Regions from separate parts of the Homo sapiens genome. Here all the other regions are linked to region 2. The links are contacts of gene promoters, found by promoter capture Hi-C in blood cells and fetal thymus (Javierre and others, 2016). All regions are on one chromosome and are shown on one strand. Each heading gives the region's core, a stretch centred on a gene start or on the middle of the fragment in contact. The rest is flanking DNA. Distances are from core to core; before and after follow the strand shown.

Region 1 (3,496 bases), core at 489-2,988, 330 kb before region 2:
ATCTGCATTCCAAGCCATATCCTTATTATAGACTAAGAAGTTTTCTCCTGTGAAATAAATTCTTGACTTGAAGCTGGAGGTGAAGGTGATCTTTTGGGGACAGAGTGATCTGCCCTCTTGAAACTGCCCAGTATCCAGATTTTCAACGATGAAACCAGAATCACAAAGTTAAGAAAAAGCATGTTTGTATTCAAAGGTTCCAATAAGTTTATTTTGTGTGCATTTGTTTTCAATTTAATTAATTTCATCAACTTAATTTAAACAAATCTTTGAAATTAATAAAATGTGAGATGTCTGCAGGTGTTTGCAGCAAGCATTGTGGTGAGATTCTTCCCTGAAGTAAGGAGAGTCCTTAAAAACAAAGATGCCTAGAAACACACATATTATTATTATCTTTAAAAATATAACAAATGTGGGGGTTGCAGTGGACACTTCACTTTTTTTTAGCTTGTATCAAAACTGTTGGACAATGTAAATGAAGGATCAAGAACAAGAAGCCTGGGGGAATAAATGGGATGACGAGTGTAGAGATACTTGTGGAGAACTCTTTATTGCCACCAATTTAATTGTGATTACAGTGGCAGACATCAACATCCAATAGAAGTTTCAGTGATAGAGGAAATTATCTCAGTCTCAGTGTCCAATATGGCAGCCACCAGCCACATGTGGCTATTGAGCACTGAGAATCTGGCTATTGTGACTGAGGAAATGGATTTTTAATTACAATGAATTTAAACTTAGTTTAATACAGCCACACATGGCTAATGGTTAGTGTACTGGACTGGTGTAGGTCTAACACCATTAGTCTTTTCATATATAATTTTAGAAATACTTTATACCAGTGAAGTCTCTCCAAGAGAAACTAATAGAGCTCCCAGTATAATACAGCCTTCCAGCTGCAAAAAGCTTATTTACTAAAAACATAGTTTATGGCCCACTCCACCCCATACACTAATCAATTACCCATCATATGCAGAATTGGCGCCTCCCTTGTTTTTTCCAGAGGAAGCCTGCAGCACCAGCATTTGGGATGAAGAGACAGACTTACCCTCACCCAGAGGAAGTTCTTCTTCTTGCTCGCTGGGGGAAGGAAGCAGGGGCTGCAGGGGTTCCATGTTAATGATGAGCTGTTTGTTCAAGGAGTGGGAACTGCGGCTCTGAGTAATGTTGGCTCTGAAAACAGACACAAGCCAGACAGAGTTGGTTTCCATCACAAATGCTGGCCCCTCCATCTCAGCGGGCTGCCCAAGCTACCATTTTGTGTCTACAGGGAACTACCTCCAGACACAGTGAATTGAGCCAGTAGTAAAGATGACGTAACATTCAAGATAAATGGCCCTTTCTGCTCTTAAGGTCCTGACCAAATGTCCCTATGTTCTACTGCAACTCAACGAAAGAAAATACAGTTCCCAATACATCACCAGCCCTGAGCATGCTAGGTGACAGCCTGGGCGTTTTTTAAAAAAAAAGAAAGAAGAAACAAAAAGACATGGGAGGTAGCTAGCACTGAACTAGATATGTAGAAAAGTGAATGAAGGGCATGGCTCAGAGAAATTTAACAACCACCAACAAACAAAAACAAAAACCCCTGCCAGATAGATGATGCAGATGTTCTACAGCTATAAGCTATCTTTGTGTTGCTGGATGTCCAATGTTTAATATCAGTGTTTAATATTCTCAAAGTTACACCCTACTCACTAACTGGCCATGGCTCTGTTTTCTCCTCTGGAAAGGAGCATGCAGGTGTGTCTGGCTGAGACTAGCAACAGATGGCAAGGAAACTGTGCAGGTATCTCATTAAGCCTATTGGTTGGGAGCTGGGGAGCCCGCTTGCCCTACCTGCTGCAGAGATACTAGCTGCTTGCCCTAGTCTGCCTGCAGGTGGATGTTTGCACACCCTTCCTCACTCCCCATGCTTCCTGTCAAAACCAAAACCAGTGCATACTTTAAAAAGGAGTCAAATGTTTCCTTCCCCTGGAAGCCTTCCCAGATTGCTCCTCCCAATGCACACAGTCTCTCTCTCTCTCTCTCTCCCTTCCTCTCCCTCTCTTTGACTACTTTCTCTTCTTTCATAACTCACTGCATTTTCACCTCTGTCTCTGTCTAGTTATTGGTGTACTGATCATCCCCACCTAGATAAGCACCTTAAGGGCAGAGACTGAGCCAGCCATACTTGTGCATCTCACTTGGCATCTTGTGAAAATGTGTTCAGGTTTGAAACTAAAGTGCACCAAATGCAATCCTGGCTTGACATATGTTGCCATTTCAGCCTGGTCAGAGTGTTCCCTAGACCGGCTGCAGGACTACCTTCTAGCCTGAGTGTTTCTGTTGGGCAGCAGGAGTGGGGAACAGCAAGATGCCTGCTACCATCTTGAATTAAAAGCTCCCATGGCTGGCATGGGCTAGAAAGGAAATTTATGAGGACTTGCTTAGCCATGGAGTCCTTTTCTTCATTATTTCATTTTACAGCCATTTACTCTGCAGCTGATATATACAAATTGGACATTCTGCTTTGCTCCAGAGAACTGTAGTCCTCACCTTAAGTAACTCACTGTCTAGAACCATAATTTTTAAGCTTTCTGGTCTGAGACCTACATTAATAAATACTTTTTTTTTTTTTTTGAGACAGAGTCTCGCTCTGTCACCTAGGCTGGAGTGCAGTGGTGCAATCTCGGCTCACTGCAACCTCTGCCTCCTGGGTTCAAGCAATTCTCCTGCCTCAGCCTCGCGAGTAGCTGGGATTACAGGTGTGTGCCACCACACCCAGCTAAATTTTTGTATTTTTAGTAGAGACGGGGTTCACTGTGTTAACCAGGATGATGGTCTTCATCTTCTGACCTCATGATCTGCCCATCTCGGCCTCCCAAAATGCTGGGATTACAGGCTTGAGCCACTACGCCCAGCCCCAAGAAACACATTTTATATAATCTCCCTGTACCCAAACACACACAGGAAGAAGCACAACTGAAATTAATGTCTTATGGAACAATAGTTACATATCTATGTATAATCCACTATTTTAAAATTCTAGTTCATTTTAAGTCCCAGTCTTGATCACTACTTTATTTCATAACTACCCCCAACTTTGTATTTTTTATTTTTTATTTTTTTGAGACGGAGTCTCACTCTGTCGCCTAGGCTGGAGTGCAGTGGTACGATCTCGGCTCACTACAACCTCCACCTCCTGGGTTCAAGTGATTCTCCTCCCTCAGCCTCCCGAGTAGCTGGGATTACAGGCATCTGCCACCATGCCCAGCTAATTTTTGTATTTTTAGTAGAGACTGTTTCACCATGTTGGGCAGGCTGGTCTCAAACTCCTGACCTAAGGTGATCACCCACCTTAGCCTCCCAAAGTGCTGGGATTACAGGCGTGAGCCACCACGCCCAGCCACATGACTCCTTTATGTGCTGTAGCCACAGCTGGAACACCGTGCCTCTCATGAAGGTGACTGATGGCCAGGGTCCCATGGGAGCACAAAGGAGGGGCACCTAATCC
Region 2 (3,244 bases), core at 108-2,607:
TCTTTTAAATGAATATTAATATGATATTAACCAGCACATGGTAGATGTTCAAGAAATGTGTATTGACCATAACTGAATTGTAAGACCTCTCTCCAAGCCTCAATTTCTTCACCTGTACAGCCCCCATCCAGATTGAAATCTCACCTACTCGGGCTAAGTATATGAAAAACAAAGGCAGTGCAGGGGTAATTGAACTATTCATTAGATAAATGCTTTTATGTCACTTTTATTGTTTTCTAGGACACAGAGTAATACCTACCTTGGTTAACAAAAGACCAAAGGAGGTGATGCCAAATGCGGTTAGAAGTGCTTTTAATCACTTTGGGAGGCCGAGGCGGGTGGATCATGAGGTCAGGAGATCGAGACCATCCTGGCTAACAAGGTGAAACCCCGTCTCTACTAAAAATACAAAAAAAATTAGCCGGGCGCGGTGGCGGGCGCCTGTAGTCCCAGCTACTCGGGAGGCTGAGGCAGGAGAATGGCGTGAACCCGGGAAGCGGAGCTTGCAGTGAGCCGAGATTGCGCCACTGCAGTCCGCAGTCCCACCTGGGCGACAGAGCGAGACTCCGTCTCAAAAAAAAAAAGAAGTGCTTTTAATCAAATAGTTCAAACGACACATAATTAACATTGTTTTAAAGCAAATGGACACTTTAAAGTGGTGCTCCTTCCTCTTAAAGCCCCAACCAGTGCTGGATTTAACAGCAGAGCCATACAGCCAAGACATATGCTGCTACGGTCAACACTCAACCCTAAGTTTGACACCAAAAGATGGCCGCCATTTATTATTGTGACAAAAGGCCAGATTACAAAACGCTGTGTACGGCCTGATCCCAGTTTTACAAAATACTCATACCCATCTATCTACGACGGGGCGCGGGGAAAGGGGAGTCGTTTTAGGAAGTGCTGCTTATTGCTGCCTGGTGTGGGAAATTATGAGTCTTATTTTCTGTTTATTCTTTTTACAAGAACATTTTTATAAATGAATGAATGAATGCTTTCCATGGGTGGATGAGGATCCGGCCTGCCAGGGTGAGGATCCTCTGGAACCAAGAGGGGCCGGGGCAGTAGAACGACAGGTGGCGGGGCTTTGGGCGGCTCCCTCCAGCCCAGGGAGACGCGAGTGCCAGGCCGGGCGCGCGCTTCACTTCCGGGAAGAGGAAAGAGGGAGGGGAGGGGAGAGGAAAAGAAGGGGCAGGAGAGAGAGGCCGGGAGGTTGGGAAAGGGAGGAGGAAAGCATGGAAAAGGGGCGCGGGAAAACGGGGAGGGCGCAGAGGGGCACGGCCCTCACTGCCCCGGCCGGGGCGAGAGCGGCTCCGCCCCTCGAGCGCCGGGTAGGCCGGGGCCGGCGGGGCCCGGAAGGCGACGGGAAGGAGCCGAGCTTGGGTTATGGCGGCGCCGGGCGCGCTGCTGGTGATGGGCGTGAGCGGCTCGGGGAAGTAGGTCCGGGAGAGGGCGGGGGGCGCCCGGGACAAGTGTTGCGGGCGCGGCGGAGGCCGGACGCGTCGCCGTCCCTGCCGGTGGACTGGGGTCTTGGGGACCCCCCACCCTTCCCTTTGCAGATGAAGAAACCGAGGCCCGCGGCTGCCGCGCCCTCTCCCCGCCCTCCAGCCTGCTCGCGGGGCGCCCATCCTGGGACCGCATCCGAGCTCCGGGTTCCCGCTCTAAGACGGGGAGGCTGCGGCGACCGCAGGCTCAGGGAGGAAGCCGCTCCTGAACAGGCGGCTGCGGGGCCGCGCAGGTGGAGGCCTAGCGAGCGGCGCGGGGCTAGGTTTCGGGGCGCCTTGTCGGGGCCAGGCGGGAGGGCGCACGGCCTCTAGCGAGAGGACGCAAACCACGGCCCAGGCTCTCACAGACCTTTGGCCATCTGGACACACAGCGGCCTCCTCCTATGAGGCCCTGGACTTCTCCGATTCAATTTTGGAAAGTGAATCGTTTTCCCCTTCCTTTCATCAGCTTAACCTGGAAGGAGACAGCGTTAATATGGAGGGTGGCTCCTGAGGGTTTGGAAAGAAAGAAGAGAATTGTGGAAACCACAGAGGTAGCCCAGTGTGCTAACCTGGAGACTGAGGAGTTAACATTTGGCTTCCTGTTTAAACCAAAGTCTAACTGTGCCCTTTATCAGAAAAGACAGCTGCTGTACCATTCGACCACAGGCAGCAAAGGACAGAACTTGATCAGCTAAAACATCATAACCTTCAAGGGCCTATAGGACCCTTCTAGAATTTTCTGAATCAGGAACGGCCCATGTTGTGGCCTGTGTAGTCAGGTGTATATTAAAGATTTACTCCAGGTAGATGGGTTTTGCTTTCCAAAATTATTGTAGGGTTCTCAGCCACAAAGATAAAAAGAAATCTTGAACTGCAATTGAAATAAAACATGGAGCCCCCAAATCCCTAGCTGCCATATGATTTGAATCAGTTGGAGAATGTAAAATCATTGCCATGGTGTGATGTAACAGGAGTGAAGAGCCCTAGGTCTTGGTTCTGTTGCTGTCTGGCTGTGTGAGCCTGGGCAGTTCATGTACCCCCTCTGAGTCTTGAATCAGATGAGGGAGGCCTAATCCCTATGATGTATAGCTTGTGATATTCATGTACTCAGTAATTATTGAGCTCAATCCTTACTCTATGTCATTGTCATATAGCGAACAGGACAGATAAAATCCCTGCCCTCAAAGGATTTACATTCTGGTATGGGAGACAGAGTAAATGAATATATGTAGTGTGTGAGTTGGTGATAGATGCTCTGGAGTAAGGGGAACAAAGAGTGCCAGGCAGAGTGGTCAGGGATGTCTCCTCTGGGGGAGTGGCGTTTCAGCAAAGACCTGCAAGACTTGAGGAACCTGCCATGTGGATAGCTGAGGAAAGGGCAGGACAGGCAGAGGGAATGGCAGGTGCAATGGTTCTGAGGCTTAGCTTCTTTTGTTTTTTTTTTGTTTTGTTTTGTTTGAGGCGGAGCTTCACTCCTGTTGCCCAGGCTGGAGTGCAGTGGTGCAATCTTGGCTCAATGCAACCTCCTCCTCCCGGGTTCAAGCAATTCTCCTGCCTCAGGCTCCTAAGTAGCTGGGATTATAGGCGCCCACCACCATGCACAGCTAATTTTTTGTATTTTTAGTAGAGACGGGGTTTCATCATGTTGGCGAGGCTGGTCTCAAACTCCTGACCTCAGGTGATCCATGCGTCTCAGCCTCCCAAAGTGCAGGGATTACAGGCGTGAGCCACCGCGCCCAGCTAAGGCTTGGCTTCTT
Region 3 (3,486 bases), core at 551-3,050, 400 kb before region 2:
AAGTTTCTCACTACCATGGTTTTATAAAGGCCAGTTCCCTTGCACACACTCTCTTGCCTGCTGCCATGTAAGACATGCCTTTGCTCCTCCTTCGCCTTCCGCCATGATTGTGAGGCCTCCCCAGCCACGTGGAACTGTGAGTCCATTAAACCTATTTTTCTTTATAAATGACCCAGTCTCAGGTATGTCTTTATCAGCAATGTGAGAACAGACTAATACATTCGGTTTCCTCATTCATAAAAATAGAGTTGGGGGGTGGGGAAGTGGGTCTTAAACTTTTCCTATCTCACGGTACAGGAATAAAGGGGGATAAAATATCTTAGGTGTCTGGTCCAGAAAAGGTAATTATAAATGTTACTTATGTTTCCTTCTCCTCCTAATTTATCCAATAAATGCAAAAACTCTGAGGCACTCACTGTCTTTTGCTCTTTATCCATTCATCAAACTTTCCTTGGAGCCTAATTGCATGCCAGATACATAACTTCATAAAACACATGTGGTTGTCTCTGGTCCTGTGGAACTACAGTGACAGGGGAGGGGGCAGAAATGAAACAGCTTACTGATAAATGAGTGAATGAATTTGGCTAGATTAATAGGAGTGGGTGAAAGGTAGCATGAATAAACACTCCATTAGGGAAAAAGAAAATTAAGCTAAATTCAAAGTACCAAGTGTGCACGTGGAAGCCAGATCCTGGGAGTTTCTGAAATTCTCTGCGCCTCCCTTTCCTCTTCTACAAAATGGAGATAGTAATAGATGGTAACTCTTTTGGGTTACTGTGAAAAGTAAAACAACACTCCCCTCCCTCATCCTCACTAACCCAGCATATCAACCAGTTTTCTGAGATGTCTAGATTTCCATTTGGCCTCCAGCCAGCTTGAACAGCCAAACTGCCCCCAAGAAAGCACCCTGAATGTGAGGTCATCCAGGGTCCTAGGACTCCATCATACCCACTCCAAAACTAAAAGCCCACAGACCGTGGGGGTAGGACCTGACTAGCTGAAACATGCTGACCAAGCTACCTGAAGCACCTCTGAGGTATGCCCAGGCCTCAGGGTTGTCAAGCAGAAAAACCAGCACCTCCAGCCAGGTGTGTCTCTCTCATAAAGAAAGCTGAAACAGTTTTCCCTGCTTCTGAGTGGCAAGCTCGCCCCCAGATGTTTCTGAGAGCACCGCCCTTGCATTCCCACCAGGCCACCTGAGAACCTGGCCTCCCACATCTGGATTCGGCTGAAGCAGCAGTGTTTGAGAGAAAGGTGAGACTGGACAGTCAAGAAAGGGACAGAAAGTCGACGGTCTGGGAACTATCCCAGCGTGGACATTTACAGAAGCCACATACCTGTGTGTCCTCACTCCTCACAGGAGGACCGTGCAAAGGCAAATTGCTAGGCAGGTAGACCTCACAGATTCTCTCAGCCGGGCAGTCGGTGAGTCTGTCCAAAGCATTTGAATCTGAAGATAAAATGTTAAGAAGAAAATCCTAGAAAAACATGTCACATATATTCTACCCACCGAACCAAACAAAAACAAAAAAGAAACACTTAATTTTTAATAATGGGCGCAAGAAGTACTCAAAGTAATAAATAATAATAATAATAAAAGTTACTTCTTAGCCTGACTGTCCTGGACGAGAATTCCGTCCCCACTTGCAGGTCGGGCACTGAGTGCCTGGACAGAGAGTTAGGTCCCCCGCTTACCCCGCCCTAAGGCTGCGGAAGGCGGCGCCATCGGTCGCCATGGAAATCGCGGCGGATGGGCGGATCCTGGGCAGGTTGGCTGGGTCGGGCTGCCCGGGCGACGCCGGAGTTGCAGTTGGAGGCTGCGGGAATACAAAGGTAAGAGAGCAACTCCTGGGTTCCCTTGACTCGCAAGGGCTTGACCCCTGCCCGGGTTCTGGGAAAGTGAAGCAGAAAGTCGCCTCCCAGCGCAGAATATTCAAATTTGCCAGATGATCAGAATTACGCTGATTTAAAACCCAAACCCTCCCTAGTTTCCCACTCCTGCCCTGCTAAATCAAAATCTCCCAGCCAGGATCCGGAATCTGGATTTAACCAGGGGCCGTTTATAGAGTTGGGAGATTGGTAGATACGAGGTTCGCCTATTCTTATTTCTCAACGCCATACCACTACCCCGTAATGGTAAAAGAATTTGCACCCCAAAATCCTCCCCAGCGGCTCTGAAATGGAGTGCTTGGAGCTGGAAATGCGGAGCCCATTCCTCTCCTTGCAATACTGAAAGTTGTGAGCTGATTGGAAGCGTCGCTGCTTCTTGTGGGTTTCCCACTGGGGGGCAGCCTCGTCCTTCGCTCCTATTCCTTCCGCAAAGCAGAGCCGACAGTGTGGTTTCTGGCTAATTCCGGCTGCAGCCTGGTTAATAATATAAGCAGCACTTCTAGGAAGCGGAGCTTGGATGCAGAGCAGAGCCTAGGGCTGTAAATGGAAGAAGCTCTCAGCCCCAATTCCTAGTTTACAGTTAGGGTTCAGAACAAAGAATCCACGCTTGTAAAGCAATAATGTTCCCCTTGAGGGGAACATTACACTGCCCTTCAGTTCACGTGTATTATTTCTCAGCCCCCCCGAGCTTTATCTTTCATTGGGCAATCAGGTGGGACTTCAGGATTGATGGAGCCAAGCGTTAGCCTTGGCTGCACACTGAGTAACTATGAGCCTCACCTGACCACCTTCAGGAGGCAGCGTGGTGGTGAGAGAGGACTCGCTTCTGCGCTAATGGGGATCGCCATAGCTTCAATGACTATAAAATCAGGACCTGTCGTATCTGCATAGCCTGTCTTAGAGGTTTACGGGACGCTCAGCTCAATAGAGTGGGATAATCTATGGGTCTCTAGTACCTCATGCATTTACTGTACCTTATTTTGATAACCTGTTTATAGGTCTGACTTCTGTTATTTCATGTATAGGCATTGTCAGCTTAAAATCATGAGATCTTAAATTTGGAGAGGAGACTTTATTTCTTATAACGAGTTGCAGCTTGCAGGGTGGCCATCATGACAGGTAGAAGCTAGCCTCTGGCAGAGACCAATAGCAGGCACTTCAGAGGATAAAAGGGAGAGGTTGAGATTTATGCCCAAGGAAATTAGCTATACATACATATTCAGTAGGTTATAGGAGAATCTTATGAATATTTATGAGTCAATACATATGCACAGAATGAACATGTATGTAACATACAACACATGTTCACTTTGGGGTGGAGACAACATTAAGATACAGTCAAATTTAGGCCACACACATTAAAAGGTGAAGCAGGGACATGAAAGTAATCAACGCTCAGCCTCTATGAATCAGCCAGAACCGGTCTGTGGTCTCTTAGAAGAAAGTTACTGAAATCAGTCTCTTGTCCAGTCAGAGCTGTAGTTATGCCTTGTGGAGCACGAGGTCAGTTAGTCAGTGTTTGGTGGTTAGTGAGCTGCAATTGTTTCAATATTGCTTATCTGGAGACCAGTGCTTGTTTTGCTGATAGAGAAAAAG
Region 4 (3,122 bases), core at 478-2,977, 390 kb before region 2:
AGACAAATAATTAACAATTAAAAAGAATACATTGCAATTTTAAAATGTTATCATATTCAGAAAATATGTATGAAATAAAATTTGCACTTATAAAACAAAAATATTACACTTCATAGTTGGCAAACATTTTAAATTTTAAATTAAAAAATTTTTAAATTGTGATTGAGTCACACTGAATGGTGAAATTAAATGAATTCAAATCCTGTTTCTTCATCTTTGCAATCACTGTGCTATCATTGTTTCTTTCTAATCTACATAGAAATAGGTCTCACCACAGGGGTTGAAGATTCAACTGCACCCAAAGCAAGATCCAGTGTTTCCAAACTGTTAGGAGCTCTTGAAATGGATGTGGGTAACCAAGGCTATTGTGCCAAGGGTTCTGAGAATCAACTTCCACATCGAACATTTATCAAAAGGTAAATAGCACAGGACAGAGGACCAGAAAAAAGAAAGTCACGCAGAGAAAGAAATCAGGAGACCTTGCATTTGTAACTTGACTATACATTTGCAATATACTCCCTACTTTGAACAACTTAGAAAAAAACATTTCTTTCTTACAAACACAGTTTCCTCCTGAAAGGAATTTTGATGTATTCTATTTTCTGATGTCTTACTATTTTGGATGTGTATCCACGTTATAGGCAACGAGATGTTTTGTTTATAAATAAATGTAGAAGAAAAATAGATGTTTTTTAGAAGCAAATTCTGGTTCTTGTTATATCTTCTGAAACTTCCAAATCCAATTTTGTTATGCATTGCCACCATGATGCTATTACTTCAGTAGAACAGGATGTCCTCAAAGAGTGAAATGGTTACGATGAGTCTAGAATGACCTGGAGGTGCCAGATTATGGGCCTTAACTCCTAGCATTTCTCAAGTAGTTACTACATGTCCAAGACTTTGCTAAGGGATTTGCAAATTCTAACTTATTTTTAAATTCCATAACAGCTCTGAGATAAGTGCTGTAGTTAAACATAATTTTAAAGATGAGGATGCCAAGAATTCAAGAGATCAAATGAGTTACCTAAAGTTACACCTAAGAAGAGCAGGAAAGCTGAGACCAGAGCTGAGGCCATCTGGCTGGAGAGCCTGAGCTCTTAGCCATCATATTACACCGACTTTCTGTTCCAGATATGCCAGCTACTTCTATCTTTATATCAGTATCTCCTAGGCAGCAATTTTATACTCTGGCCTTTTGTCATTTTTACAGAAGCACTAATAATGATGCACAAAATTATTTTGTGTAAAAAAATTAAAATTTTTGTTTTTAATAGTTTTTGTAGAATCTATTAAAATATTAATATTCATAGTTCATAAGAAAATATTAATAGTTATTTCATAATAGCTTAAGTAACTATTGAACAAAAGTTAAAAATTTATTAGAAGTAAATATCAATGGTATAAATCAAATTATTTAATCTTTATGCACAAATATTACTTATCGCTAAAATGAAACTGGGTTCAGCATTATCTATTTTTCATTTTGATAGAATTAAGTACTGACAAAACTTGCTGACAAATAGAAATGGAAAGGTTCTTGGTTATAATAAAGCTACTCAACTCGTACTCCTCACAAAATATGTTAAAAAATAACATAGTGAACCACAACAAATATAATTTTTGCTAACAGCTTTGTTGAGCTATAATTAACATACCATAAATAATGCATAAAATTCATTGGTCTTTGTTCACAGAGTCATGCGACCATCGCAACTACATAATTCAAAGAAAAATTTTATCACCCAAAAAAGAAACTCTGTACCTATTAGCAGTCATTCTTCATTCTCCCTACCCGTGGAAATCACTAATCTACTTTCTGTCTCTATAGATTTGCCTATTCTGGACATTTTATATAAATCAAATCATGCAATAGATGGCCTTTTGCTTTTGGCTTCTTTTACTTAGCATAATGTTTTCAAAGTTCATCCATGGTGTAGCGTGTACCAATACTTCATTCATTTTTATGGAATGGATACACTACATTTGTTTATGCAATTTACGAACCGATGGACATACGGGTTGTTTCCACTTCTGTGCTATTATGCAAAGTGCTGCTATGAAAATTACCCATTTTTTTGTGTAAATATATGTTTTCTGTTCTCTTGAGTATATACCTAAGAGTGGAATTGCTGGCTTGTATGGTAACCTTATGCTTAACTTTTTGAAGAACTACGAAACTGTTTTCCAAAGTAGCTGCACAATTTTTTTTTTTTTTAGACGGAGTCCCGCTCTTTCGCCCAGGTTGGAGTGCAGTGGCGCGATCTCGGCTCACTGCAAGCTCTGCCTCCCGGGTTCACGCCATTCTCCTGCCTCAGCCTCCGGAGTAGCTGGGACTACAGGCGCCCGCCACAGCGCCCGGCTAATTTTTTGTATTTTTAGTAGAGACGGGGTTTCACCGTGTTAGCCAGGATGATCTCGATCTCCTGACCTCGTGATCTGCCCGCCTCGGCCTCCCAAAGTGCTGGAATTACAGGTGTGAGCCACCGCGCCCAGCCTAGTAGCTGCACAATTTTACATTTTTACCAGGAATATATGAGGGTTTCAATTTATCCACATCCTCAGCAACACTTCGTGGCCTGTCTTTTTATTATAGCCATTCTTGTGGGTGTAAAGTAGAATCTCAATGTGGCACTGATTTGCATTTCTTTAATGACTAATGATATTGGACATCTTTTCGTGTGCTTACTATCCATTTGCATATTTCCTTTACCAAAATGTCTATTGTGATAACATTTCCTACTTTAAAAATTGGTTATGTTTTTTATTACTGAGTTGTAAGTATTCTTTATGTATTATGGGTACAAATTCATTATCGGATGTATGATTTAAAAATATTTTCATCCCTTCAGTGTTTTGTCTTTTCACTTTTCTTGACAGTGTCTTTTAAAGCACAAAAGTTTTTAAATTTATCTATTACTATCTAATTTACCTATTTTTTATTTTGTCTCTAGTGCTTTTGCTGTCCTTAGAAACCATCCTCTCTAATCAAAGGTTACAAAGATCTGATCTTATGTTTCTTCTAAAAGTTTTGTAAATTTTATTAAACACAAGGTCTCTGATTTATTTTGTGCTAATTTGTGTATACAGTGTGAGAAATTGGTCCAATTTTATGATTTTGCTGT
Region 5 (3,198 bases), core at 625-3,124, 350 kb before region 2:
TTCTCAGATCAGTGCCTTGCACGGCAATTTACTCAATAAATGTTAGCGATTTTTTTTCAATACATGGTCATTTTTTTTTTTTTTGGTCTCTTTTTAACTGCTCAAGAGGAAGACTGTGAGGATTTTAAATAGCCTGGATTCTCTTCCTTCTGTCAACCATATGTCTTAACATACTATTACGAGTTACTCCTCCCCAATAGTAGCAGTATTGCTGGTTGTGAGGAGTTAACCCGGCCATGCCTATTACCTTGGGAAACCTACAGAAGCCTGCTGAATGCAATTTTCTATCTGCAAAATGGTGAGGATACTGGGTGTTTACATGACTGGGTTCCTGACATGGAATAGGCATTTAATAAATACTAACTATAATTATATCATCATCAATATCATGCAATTTATCTACATTAGAAACCAACAGACTTGACAAGTATAGTGGAGTCAGCCATTAGTTAAAATAGTTTGAGAGATTCACTGAAATTTTAGCTAACTGCTAGCTCCAAGTGGAAAGATAATAAATTATTATTACATTCATTAAATGTTCTTTGTAATCAGGTTAGACATTAAGTATCCATTAAAAAGAGTCCTTGGGACTAACATATACTTCAGAGGACTTTTTAAAGATTGTATTAATAAAACATATAAACAATAATTTTAATAATATATTTATGATAGGAGGGGTATATTCTTGGGTATACAGTAAAAAGAAAGGGAAGCTGTTCCCAACATCACTGAGAGACTGAGAGAAAGGACCATATGGCCAGGTAATCAACCATTTGTATAACTTAATTTCCTTGTTTGGAAAGTGAGACAACAGTATCTGTTCTATCCAATTCAAAGAAATGGTCATGAGTGTCAAATTATGATAACTTACATGAACAAAACCCTGGAAATGCATAAGATGCTTTGGCATATTAGACACTGTTCCTCTTATGATTTCCCATATCAGACTGAATGTTTCCTGCCTGTAAGCTGAGATAACTGCTCTCTGGGGCCCAGCATCACCTTGTAGAGTCTGGGGAAAGGTCAATAAAAATCCTCTGGAGAATACAGTTGCAGACAAAGTATAGTTCAAGCAGCACAGCTGGGCATTCTTCAACACCACTGTTCTCAGTAGCTCTAAGACCTCCTTATCATGACTTACTTCCTTGTATTTTCCTGACTCTCCAACTTATTTATAAACGGAAAAGAGCACATCATTCAAAGCAGTCGGTTAACTTAGGTAAGGAAAGCCAACAAGCATGATTGTGACTCAAGATAGTTGCTCTTGTTAAGTCACTGCTCCTGCTCTCCCTCTCCCTCCCCCTCCCCCTCTCCCTCCATCTCTGTCTCCCTCTCTCTCCTCTGTCTCCCTCTCTCTCCACGGTCTCCCTCTGATGCCTAGCTGAAGCTGGACTGTACTGCCGCCATCTTGGCTCACTGCAACCTCCCTGCCTGATTCTCCTGCCTCAGCCTGCCCAGTGCCTGGGATTGCAGGCGGGCGCCGCCACGCCTGACTGGTTTTCGTTTTTTTTTTTGGTGGAGACGGGGTTTCGCTGTGTTGGCCGGGCTGGTCTCCAGCTCCTAACCCCAAGTGATCTGCCAGCCTTGGCCTCCCGAGGTGCCGGGATTGCAGACGGAGTCTCGTTCACTCAGTGCTCAATGTTGCCCAGGCTGGAGTGCAGTGGCGTGATCCCCGCTCGCTACAACCTCCACCTCCCAGCCGCCTGCCTTGGCCTCCCAAAGTGCCGAGATTGCAGCTTCTGCCCGGCCGCCACCCCCTCTGGGAAGTGAGGAGCATCTCTGCCTGGCCGCCCATCGTCTGGGATGTCAGGAGCCCCTCTGCCCGGCCGCCCAGTCTGGGAAGTGAGGAGCGCCTCTGCCCGGCTGCCCAGTCTGGTAAGTGAGGAGCGCCTCTGCCCGGCTGCCCAGTCTGGGAAGTGAGGAGCGCCTCTTCCCGGCCGCCATCCCATCTAGGAAGTGAGGAGCGTCTCTGCCCGGCCGCCCATCATCTGAGATGTGGGGAGTGCCTCTGCCCCGCCGCCCCGTCTGGGATGTGAGGAGCGCCTCTGCCCGGCCACGACCCCATCTGGGAGGTGAGGAGCGTCTCTGCCCGGCCACCCCGTCCGAGAAGTGAGGAGCCCCTCCGCCCGGCAGCCGCCCCGTCTGAGAAGTGAGGAGCCCCTCCGCCCGGCAGCCGCCCCGTCTGGGAAGTGAGGAGCATCTCCGCCCGGCAGCCGCCCCGTCCGGGAGGGAGGTGGGGGGCAGCCCCCACCCAGCCAGCTGCCCCGTCCGGGAGGTGGGGGGGGGCGCCTCTGCCCGGCCACCCCTTCTGGGAAGTGAGGAGCCCCTCTGCCCGGCTGCCACCCCATCTGGGAGGTGTACCCAACAGCTCATTGAGAACGGGCCATGATGACGATGGTGGTTTTGTCGAATAGAAAAGGGGGAAATGTGGGGAAAAGATAGAGAAATCAGATTGTTGCTGTGTCTGTGTAGAAAGAAGTAGACATGGGAGACTCCATTTTGTTCTGTACTAAGAAAATTTCTTCTGCCTTGGGATGCTGTTAATCTATAACCTTACCCCCAACCCCGTGCTCTCTGAAACATGTGCTGTGTCCACTCAGGGTTAAATGGATTAAGGGCGGTGCAAGATGTGCTTTGTTAAACAGATGCTTGAAGGCAGCATACTGGTTAAGAGTCATCAGCACTCCCTAATCTCAAGTACCCAGGGACACAAACACTGCGGAAGGCCGCAGGGTCCTCTGCCTAGGAAAACCAGAGACCCTTGTTCACTTGTTTATCTGCTGACCTTCCCTCCACTATTGTCCTATGACCCTGCCAAATCCGATCAATAAATACTAAAAAAAAAAAAAAAAAACCTGGGGAAAAAAAAAAAAGTTACTGCTCCTGTTACAAAGAATGCATACAGTTCCTCACCCCCTCCAAGAAATTGACTAAGATTTATGCACAAAGTGTCTAAAATTATCATATTCTGCTCCAATAGGATAACATTTAAATGCACTTTAAAATAAAATTAGAACAAAAATACAAAAAAGTCACTTGGTGTTTTCTTTTCTTTTTTTTGAGACAGGGTCTTGCTCTGTCACCCAGGCTGGAGTTCAGTGGCCCATCCATAGCTCACTGCAGCCTCGACCTCCTGGGCTTCAAAGTGATCCTCCTGCCTCAGCCTGCCAAGCAGCTAGGACTGTAAGTACACGCCAT
Region 6 (3,189 bases), core at 594-3,093, 420 kb before region 2:
GGCCTGTTCAGAAAGGTCCTTTCCCAGATCAACTCCCACTGAGTTTTTTATTCGTTTACCATCTCAGCGAGACACTCCGGCCACTGTATTTAAAAATCAGTCCTTCCAATGCTATTGTCTCCCTTTGCTGCCTTATTTTCCTCAAAACACCTGTCATCATCATTTTTGTCTCACTCCACTGGAATGTAAGCTCCAGGAAGGAAGAGGTGATTTTGTCTGTTGTGTTCACTGCTGTATCCCCAGGTTCTAAAGCAATGTCAGCTCATAGCAGGGCCTCAGTGAGCTTGCTACATGAATTAGTTAAGTCATAGCCTATGTTGTGGTTCCCTGAAGTGAGAAAAGAGCTGGGATTTACTCAGATTACCAAGGAAACAATGCTGCATTGAGGCTGCCAGTCTGGACATGACCTCCAGCTGACTTTGCTCCAAAGATGAGTCCAAGCACTCCAGAGCATCTCCCTTCTCTTAAAGGGTCATAGACCCATAGACCAGGATTTTGTACATAAAGACTTTCAATATCTGGAGTGAGTTTGATCAAAGGATCTAACAGAGAAATGCAGCTAATGTAGACTTGTGAAGGCAAGAGGGCTTTCCTCTTCCTAGAAAGGCCATCCACCCCACCCAATGATATAGGTTTGGGAGAATCCTGGAGAAGCTGTGGAAGAAGGACACCTGCCTAGCAAGTCAGACCAGGCTGCTGTACCCTGGCTGTTGATGGCAGAACAGAAGTCACAGCCAGACTGTCCATGTGTCCCTGTCTGGAACACAGTTCTCCTCCACACAGCCCACTGCATTCGGCCTTCAACCAAAAAGGTGCTGGAGAATGACAAGCAAAAGCCCATCCAGGGTTCTTAGCAGTGGGGAAAGCATATTCCTATCATCATGTTTTGCTGAAATAATTTTGAATTATGCCTTGGACGTAGAGGATGCCAGAGTTCGGATATTCTCTTGGAAGAGGCCTTGGTAATGGAGGAGACACTCCCAAATAGTAAGTGGATTCTGGAGGCAACTACTTAACCAATCTAGTGCTATTTCAGAATTTTTAAAAAATATAATTGTAAGAAATGTTTTTGGAGTGAAACATGTATTATCACGTGGACCAATATAGCAGTTGGACTCAATGTAAATATTAATGGGACTTTTTTCTATTTCTCTACTCCTCACTACAAATTAGTTACTTGCCTGGGATCTAATTTTACTTAATATGTAGGTAAGGAATAGTGCTTGGCATGATTTCATGCTTGGAATATGTAAGTAAGGAAAAATGCTCAGCAGGATTTCATGCTTGGTTTGTTGTCTCTTCAGTTCTATTCTCAAGTAGTTTAGCATTTTGTTTTAAATGTTTTAGCTCCTAAGGGCATGAATATATACAATAATATCTCCCTTCCCAGATTATCAGACTCCTAAGTCTGACTCCTTCAAGCACCGAGAAGCCAGATCAGGACACAGATGAAAATGCTAACATAACACTGCATCATGCAGATGATTTGAAAACATGGTGACTGAGAAGTGGCTCATCCCAGATGGCTATGGGGTCAAATACATCTCCAGTTATGGCCCTCTGGACAAGTGGCAGGCCCTGCACTCATGAGGGCTCCCCATGTGCTGCTCCCTCCTAATGCCCACCAATAAATCCTACTTCCTGTCCAAAAAAAAAAGAAAAACCACCCATCATAGCAACATGCACTTTGCTCCTTAAGTTCTCATTCAAAGCCTTATTAACTATTATTTAACACATAAGCTTAAGTATGTTTAATTAATTTCTATATCTATGCAGCTTAAAAGGAAAATTGGCTAAAAGACATGAGTCAAGCAGCTGCAATGACTCAGAGATGTAATAGACAATGATAACAAAAGAGAAAACAGAACTATAAATAATGAATATTCATAATGAAAAACAATTGTCAAGCTAATATTTAACTACAACTAACACACATTGTAATGATAGAAAGCTTTCCAATGCACTTTAAAATGAATTTAACAAGAAATGGCATTAAAAGAAAGCAGTATTTTTTTTTTGAGGTGGAGTCTCACTCCGTTGCCCAGGCTGGAGTGCAATGGCTTGATCTCAGCTCACTGCAGATTCAGCCTCTCAGATTCAAGCAATTCTCCTGCCTCAGCCTTCCCAGTAGCTAGGATTACAGGTGCCCGCCACTATGCTTGGCTTGTTTTTTTGTTTGTTTGTTTGTTTGTTTTAATTTTTAGTAGAGATGGGGTCTTGCCATGTTGGCCAGGCTGGTCTCAAACTCCTCACCTCAGGTGATCCTCCCACCTCGCAAAGTGCTGGGATTACAGGCTTGAGCCACCACACCCAGCCAAGAAATTAGATTTTAAGTGTTCTCACCACAGAAAAGATAAGTATGTGAGGCACTACATATGTTAAATAGCTTGATTTGGCCATTCTACTGGTATACATACATCAAAACGTCATGTTGTACACCATAATATATATAATTTTTACTTGTCAATTAACAATAAGTAAATGGACAGCAGTACTTAAAAGAAAAAGATGTACATATTTAGATTATTCTCTTATATGGACCCAACTGTTAATTGTTAAAGCTAGCAAAATGGAAGTTATTGTATATATGGAATCTATATATATAGATATTATATGCCCCATATATATAATCAATAGACGATCGACAGCAATCCATTAAAAATTAGTGTGGGTTCCTACAAAATTTACATTTATTTTTACATTTATTTATTAAATAAATATTGAGTACTTCTAGCTCTTAGTGAGTTAGACAGACTTGGTCTTGCCCTTGTAGACCCTCCTTATGTTCTATTTCAGTCCTTTTTTTTTTTCTTTTTTTGAGATGGACTCTCATTCTGTCACCCGGGCTGCAGTGCAGTGGCGCCATCTTGGCTCACTGCTACCTACGCCTCCCAGGTTCAAGCAATTCTCCTGCCTCAGCCTCCCAAACAGCTGGGATTACAGGCACTCACCACAATACCTGGCTAATTTTTGTATTTTTAGTAGAGACGGGGTTTCATCATGTTGGCCAGGCTGGTCTCAAACTCTTGATCTCAAGTGATTCATCAATTTCAGCCACCCAAAGTGCTGGGATTACAGGCATGAGCCACCACACCTGGCCTATTCCATTACATTTTAGGTAAGTTCGTTGAAAGTGAAAATAGGATGCCTTGAGAGAAAATAGGTAAGTAGACCAGGTCTGTTCTGAAG
Region 7 (3,462 bases), core at 188-2,687, 390 kb after region 2:
ACTTGGTACCATCACACTGGCTGATAAAAGGCCTAATATGGGATTATTTCTCTTCTTTCTTTAATTAATTAAATTTATGTATTTAATATATTTTTTGGAGATGGGATTTCACTCTGTTGCCCAGGCTGGAGTGCAGTGATACAATCATAACTCATAATCATAACTCACTGCGGCCTCCAATTCCTGGGCTCAAGCAATCCTCCCACCTCAGCTTCCTGAGTAGCTGGGACTACAGGCACACACCACCACACCTGGCTAATTTATTTTTACTTTTTGTAGAGATGGGGTCTCCCTGTGCCAAGCTGGTCGTAAAGCAATCCTCTCACCTTGGCCTCCCAAAGTATTGGGATTACAGACATGAGCCAAAGAGAAGGCCGGGTACAGTGGCTCAAATGGGTAATCCCAGCACTTTGAGATGCCAAGGCAGGAGAATTGCTTGAAGCCAGGAGTTGGAGAGCAGCCTGGGCAACATAGTGAGACCCCATTTCTACAAAAGTTTTAAAAAACTATGAACAAGGCAAGAGTTGTTTTGTATTGCTATCAGTTATCTACAATTAATAGAGTTGTAAAATAACTCACATAAGTGTCCTTTTTGTTCACAAGGAGCCTCTCTTGAATACATCTGAGTTTATGCTAATGAAGCGACTTAGGGTGGGGCCCCAAAAAGGCCTCAGGATCAAGTTGGTTACCAGAAAGTCCAAGTAATTAGAAGGTGGAAACTTTCTGCCCCACCCACTCACCTCTGTATACAAACTTGAATAATTAGATTTGATGAGCCTCCAGGTGAATACATCAAAGTGCTGGGAGGGTAGCACAGCTGGAGAGGGCATGGAAGCTCTGACCCCTCCTTCACTGAATTGTTTGCTTTATAATAAACTTGTAAATTTAAGTATTGTTTTTCTGAGTTTTATGAGATGTTCTAATAAATTATTGAACCCAAGGAGTGGCTTGTGGGATCCCCTGATTTATACCCAGTTGGTCATAAGTACAGGTGGCCTGGACTTGGATGTGGGGAGCAGTCTTGTGAGACTGAGCTCTTAACCTGTGGGGTCTGCTTTAACTCCAGGTAGTTAGTATTGAATTGAATTGAATTCAGTATTGAGTTGAATTATTGGACACCCAGTTTGTGTCCAGAGAATCAGAGAATTCGTTGTTGGTGTTGGAAAAACACTCTAGAATTGGTGCTAGAAATGGGATGTGAGTAGAGAAATGGCGTTCTTTGTTTTCTGTTTACTGTTTTTTACCAAAGTAGGATTTGAAGCTTTTGTGCCATGCATGGATCCAAGAATTTTTGCCAAGGTTGTGAGCTCCTTGCTGAGTGTTAGACACTGTGCTAAATGCTTTACAAAGAATGTTTCTTTAGAAAGTTAAAATCCTTTTATCAAAGCAATACATAAACATAATCGCAAAATTACATAGTATAGAAAGACCATGATAAAAAGTAGCAATCCTCTTTTTCACTGTTTCCCACGTCCCACTCCTATTCTGCTCCCCAGGGAGACCGATGTTGCCTATTAAGGTCTGTTTTTAGTGTATCTATTGATTGTCCTCATTCTTTAAATAATACGGGAATTTCCATTATTTAGACTTCTACCTGTCAAGTTAGCTCTGATAAAGCTTTAACTCACTTGATTCCTGCATCTCTTTTTTCCATCCATTACAAAACTCTTTTTGGTTTTCTTTATTGGCTATTATTAAAACATGAAATGATGGGCCGGGTGCAGTGGCTCGTGCCTGTAATCCCAACACTTTGGGAGGCCGTGGCAGGCGGACTACCTGGGGTCAGGAGTTTGAGAGCAGCCTGGCCAACATGGTGAAACCCCGTCTCTACTAAAAATACAAAATTAGCCGGGTGTGGTGGCACACGCCTGTAATCCCAGCTACTTGGGAGGCTGAGACAGAATTGCTTGAGCCCAGGAAACAGGTTGCAGTGAGCCGAGATCGTGCCACTGCACTCTAGCCTGGCCGACAGAGCGAGACTCTGTCTCAAAAACAAACAAACAAATAAACAAACAAAACCATGAAATGGTGAACTTACACTTTGATTTCTTATTACAACTATAGGCCATTTCTCCTGACTACTCATATTACAAAATAGTCTAATTAGTACTCCTAACTTTTCTTTATGCTTAATGTCTCCTCATACTTCAACATTATCAGACTGAATAAGTTTGCATTCTATTAATTAATCTGATTTATGACATCTGTTTCCTCTATAAGCTTATTCTAAAGGTTAAACGTCAAGCAGTGATCACATTATTACAACTATTTAAATATTGGTGATTGCACAGGTTGTTATGTGTAGTATATTGGCATTACCAGTCTTTTTGTAGAGATTTTTTTGGGTGATGGGGGGTGTTATTTGCTGTCCATTTTGGGGGTATTCACACCTTTTTCTCATCCTTAAGTTCTTCCAACTTCTTAAGGACAATATCAAATCTCTTGCATCTCTTACTTTTCTAGATACCTCCTGTAAAAAAAAAGCCTTTTTAGATTTGCAGAAAATTTGAGATGATAGTAGAGAGTTCTTATATACTCTACTCCCAGTTTGCTCTATTATTAACATCTTGCATTAGTATGGTACATTTGTTACAACTGATGATCCAATATTGTTACATTATTAACCAAAGTCTATATTGTATGTAGGTTTTACCTAATGTGTTTCTCTTCCAGGATCCCATCCAGGATACTATATTACCTTTAGTTGTCATGTCTCCTTACTCTCCTCTTGGTTGTGACAGTTTCTCAGACTCTCCTTGTTTTTGATGACCTTGACAGCTTTGAGGCGTATTGGTCAAGTACTTTGTAGGATGCCCCTCTATTGGAATTTGTGTGATGTTTTTCTCATTATGATACTGGCTAATTGGTTTCTGGGAGGAAGACCACACAGGTAAAGTGTCATTTTTACTATATCATATCAAGGGTACATACTATCAACATATTTAATCACTGTTCATGTTGACCTTGATCACCTGGATGAGATAGTGTTTGTCGTTTTTCTACAGTAAAGTTATTCTTCCACTCTCCCCCAGCCTTTCCACACTGAATGCTTTGGAAGGAAGTAACTGTGTGTAATCTATACTTAAGGAGTGAAGGTTTGTGTTCCATTTATGTTCCTCCTTCCTTGAGGACAGAGTATCTACATAAATTATTTGAAATTGTTCTGAAACAGAGATTTGTTTCTTTTCCCTCATAAATTAATTTATTCAATGATTTATATGAATATAGACTCATGGATATATATTTTATAATTTGGGTTATAATTCAGTAGTACTTTTTAAATTTTGTTGTTCAAATTGTTTCAGCTTTGGCAATTGGGATCTTCTTTCCCTTGGTTCTTGTGTCCCTTTGACATACTCCCATCATTTATTTTTTATTTTATTTTTTCTGAGACAGAGCCTTGCTCTGTTGCCCAGGCTGGAGTGCAGTGGCACAATCTCAGCTCACTGCAACTTCCACCCC

Evidence for each region. Contacts are between HindIII fragments. The CHiCAGO score rates a contact against its expected background, and 5 or more counts as called.
Region 1: a contact is called between a fragment that was not itself captured here and the fragment with the promoter of IDNK in region 2, in 1 of 17 cell types (neutrophils). The highest score is 6.2, in neutrophils.
Region 3: a contact is called between the fragment with the promoter of FRMD3-AS1 here and the fragment with the promoter of IDNK in region 2, in 1 of 17 cell types (monocytes). The highest score is 5.7, in monocytes.
Region 4: a fragment that was not itself captured here is called in contact with the fragment with the promoter of IDNK in region 2 in 2 of 17 cell types (M2 macrophages and M0 macrophages); the score reaches 6.7 in M2 macrophages.
Region 5: a fragment that was not itself captured here is called in contact with the fragment with the promoter of IDNK in region 2 in 1 of 17 cell types (megakaryocytes); the score reaches 6.3 in megakaryocytes.
Region 6: a contact is called between a fragment that was not itself captured here and the fragment with the promoter of IDNK in region 2, in 5 of 17 cell types (megakaryocytes, M0 macrophages, M1 macrophages and 2 more). The highest score is 9.5, in megakaryocytes.
Region 7: a contact is called between a fragment that was not itself captured here and the fragment with the promoter of IDNK in region 2, in 1 of 17 cell types (total CD8 T cells). The highest score is 6.1, in total CD8 T cells.

What each region holds. Positions count from the first base shown.
Region 1 is chr9:83,289,555-83,293,050 of GRCh38, forward strand. It overlaps FRMD3 (FERM domain containing 3), which reads right to left. Exons shown (of 14, transcript NM_174938.6): 13 at 1,049-1,173. It overlaps LOC124902190 (a long non-coding RNA gene), which reads left to right. Exons shown (of 3, transcript XR_007061614.1): 3 at 1-313. Among named protein-coding and RNA genes, the nearest start is that of FRMD3-AS1, 72 kb to the left of the region's middle. The HindIII fragment of the contact is 1,669 bases long and covers 905-2,573 here.
Region 2 is chr9:83,621,786-83,625,029 of GRCh38, forward strand. It overlaps IDNK (IDNK gluconokinase), which reads left to right and starts at 1,358. Exons shown (of 5, transcript NM_001001551.4): 1 at 1,358-1,436. The coding sequence starts at 1,387. RefSeq lists a silencer at 1,053-1,582 and enhancers at 1,763-1,892, 1,913-1,962. The HindIII fragment of the contact is 10,566 bases long and covers 1-3,244 here.
Region 3 is chr9:83,217,545-83,221,030 of GRCh38, forward strand. It overlaps FRMD3-AS1 (FRMD3 antisense RNA 1), which reads left to right and starts at 1,801. Exons shown (of 3, transcript NR_184120.1): 1 at 1,801-1,833. It also overlaps a transcript of RASEF not described here. The HindIII fragment of the contact is 11,674 bases long and covers 1-3,486 here.
Region 4 is chr9:83,235,406-83,238,527 of GRCh38, forward strand. The region is part of intron 2 of FRMD3-AS1 (FRMD3 antisense RNA 1); the gene reads left to right. Among named protein-coding and RNA genes, the nearest start is that of FRMD3-AS1, 18 kb to the left of the region's middle. The HindIII fragment of the contact is 4,774 bases long and covers 1-3,122 here.
Region 5 is chr9:83,270,774-83,273,971 of GRCh38, forward strand. All of the region lies in intron 13 of FRMD3 (FERM domain containing 3), which reads right to left. It overlaps LOC124902190 (a long non-coding RNA gene), which reads left to right and starts at 3,068. Exons shown (of 3, transcript XR_007061614.1): 1 at 3,068-3,183. FRMD3-AS1 (FRMD3 antisense RNA 1) reads left to right here. Exons shown (of 3, transcript NR_184120.1): 3 at 1-60. The HindIII fragment of the contact is 3,911 bases long and covers 1-3,198 here.
Region 6 is chr9:83,200,476-83,203,664 of GRCh38, forward strand. It overlaps a transcript of RASEF not described here and the pseudogene RN7SKP242. Among named protein-coding and RNA genes, the nearest start is that of FRMD3-AS1, 17 kb to the right of the region's middle. The HindIII fragment of the contact is 211 bases long and covers 1,739-1,949 here.
Region 7 is chr9:84,013,651-84,017,112 of GRCh38, forward strand. No RefSeq gene overlaps it. Among named protein-coding and RNA genes, the nearest start is that of RMI1, 35 kb to the left of the region's middle. The HindIII fragment of the contact is 356 bases long and covers 1,260-1,615 here.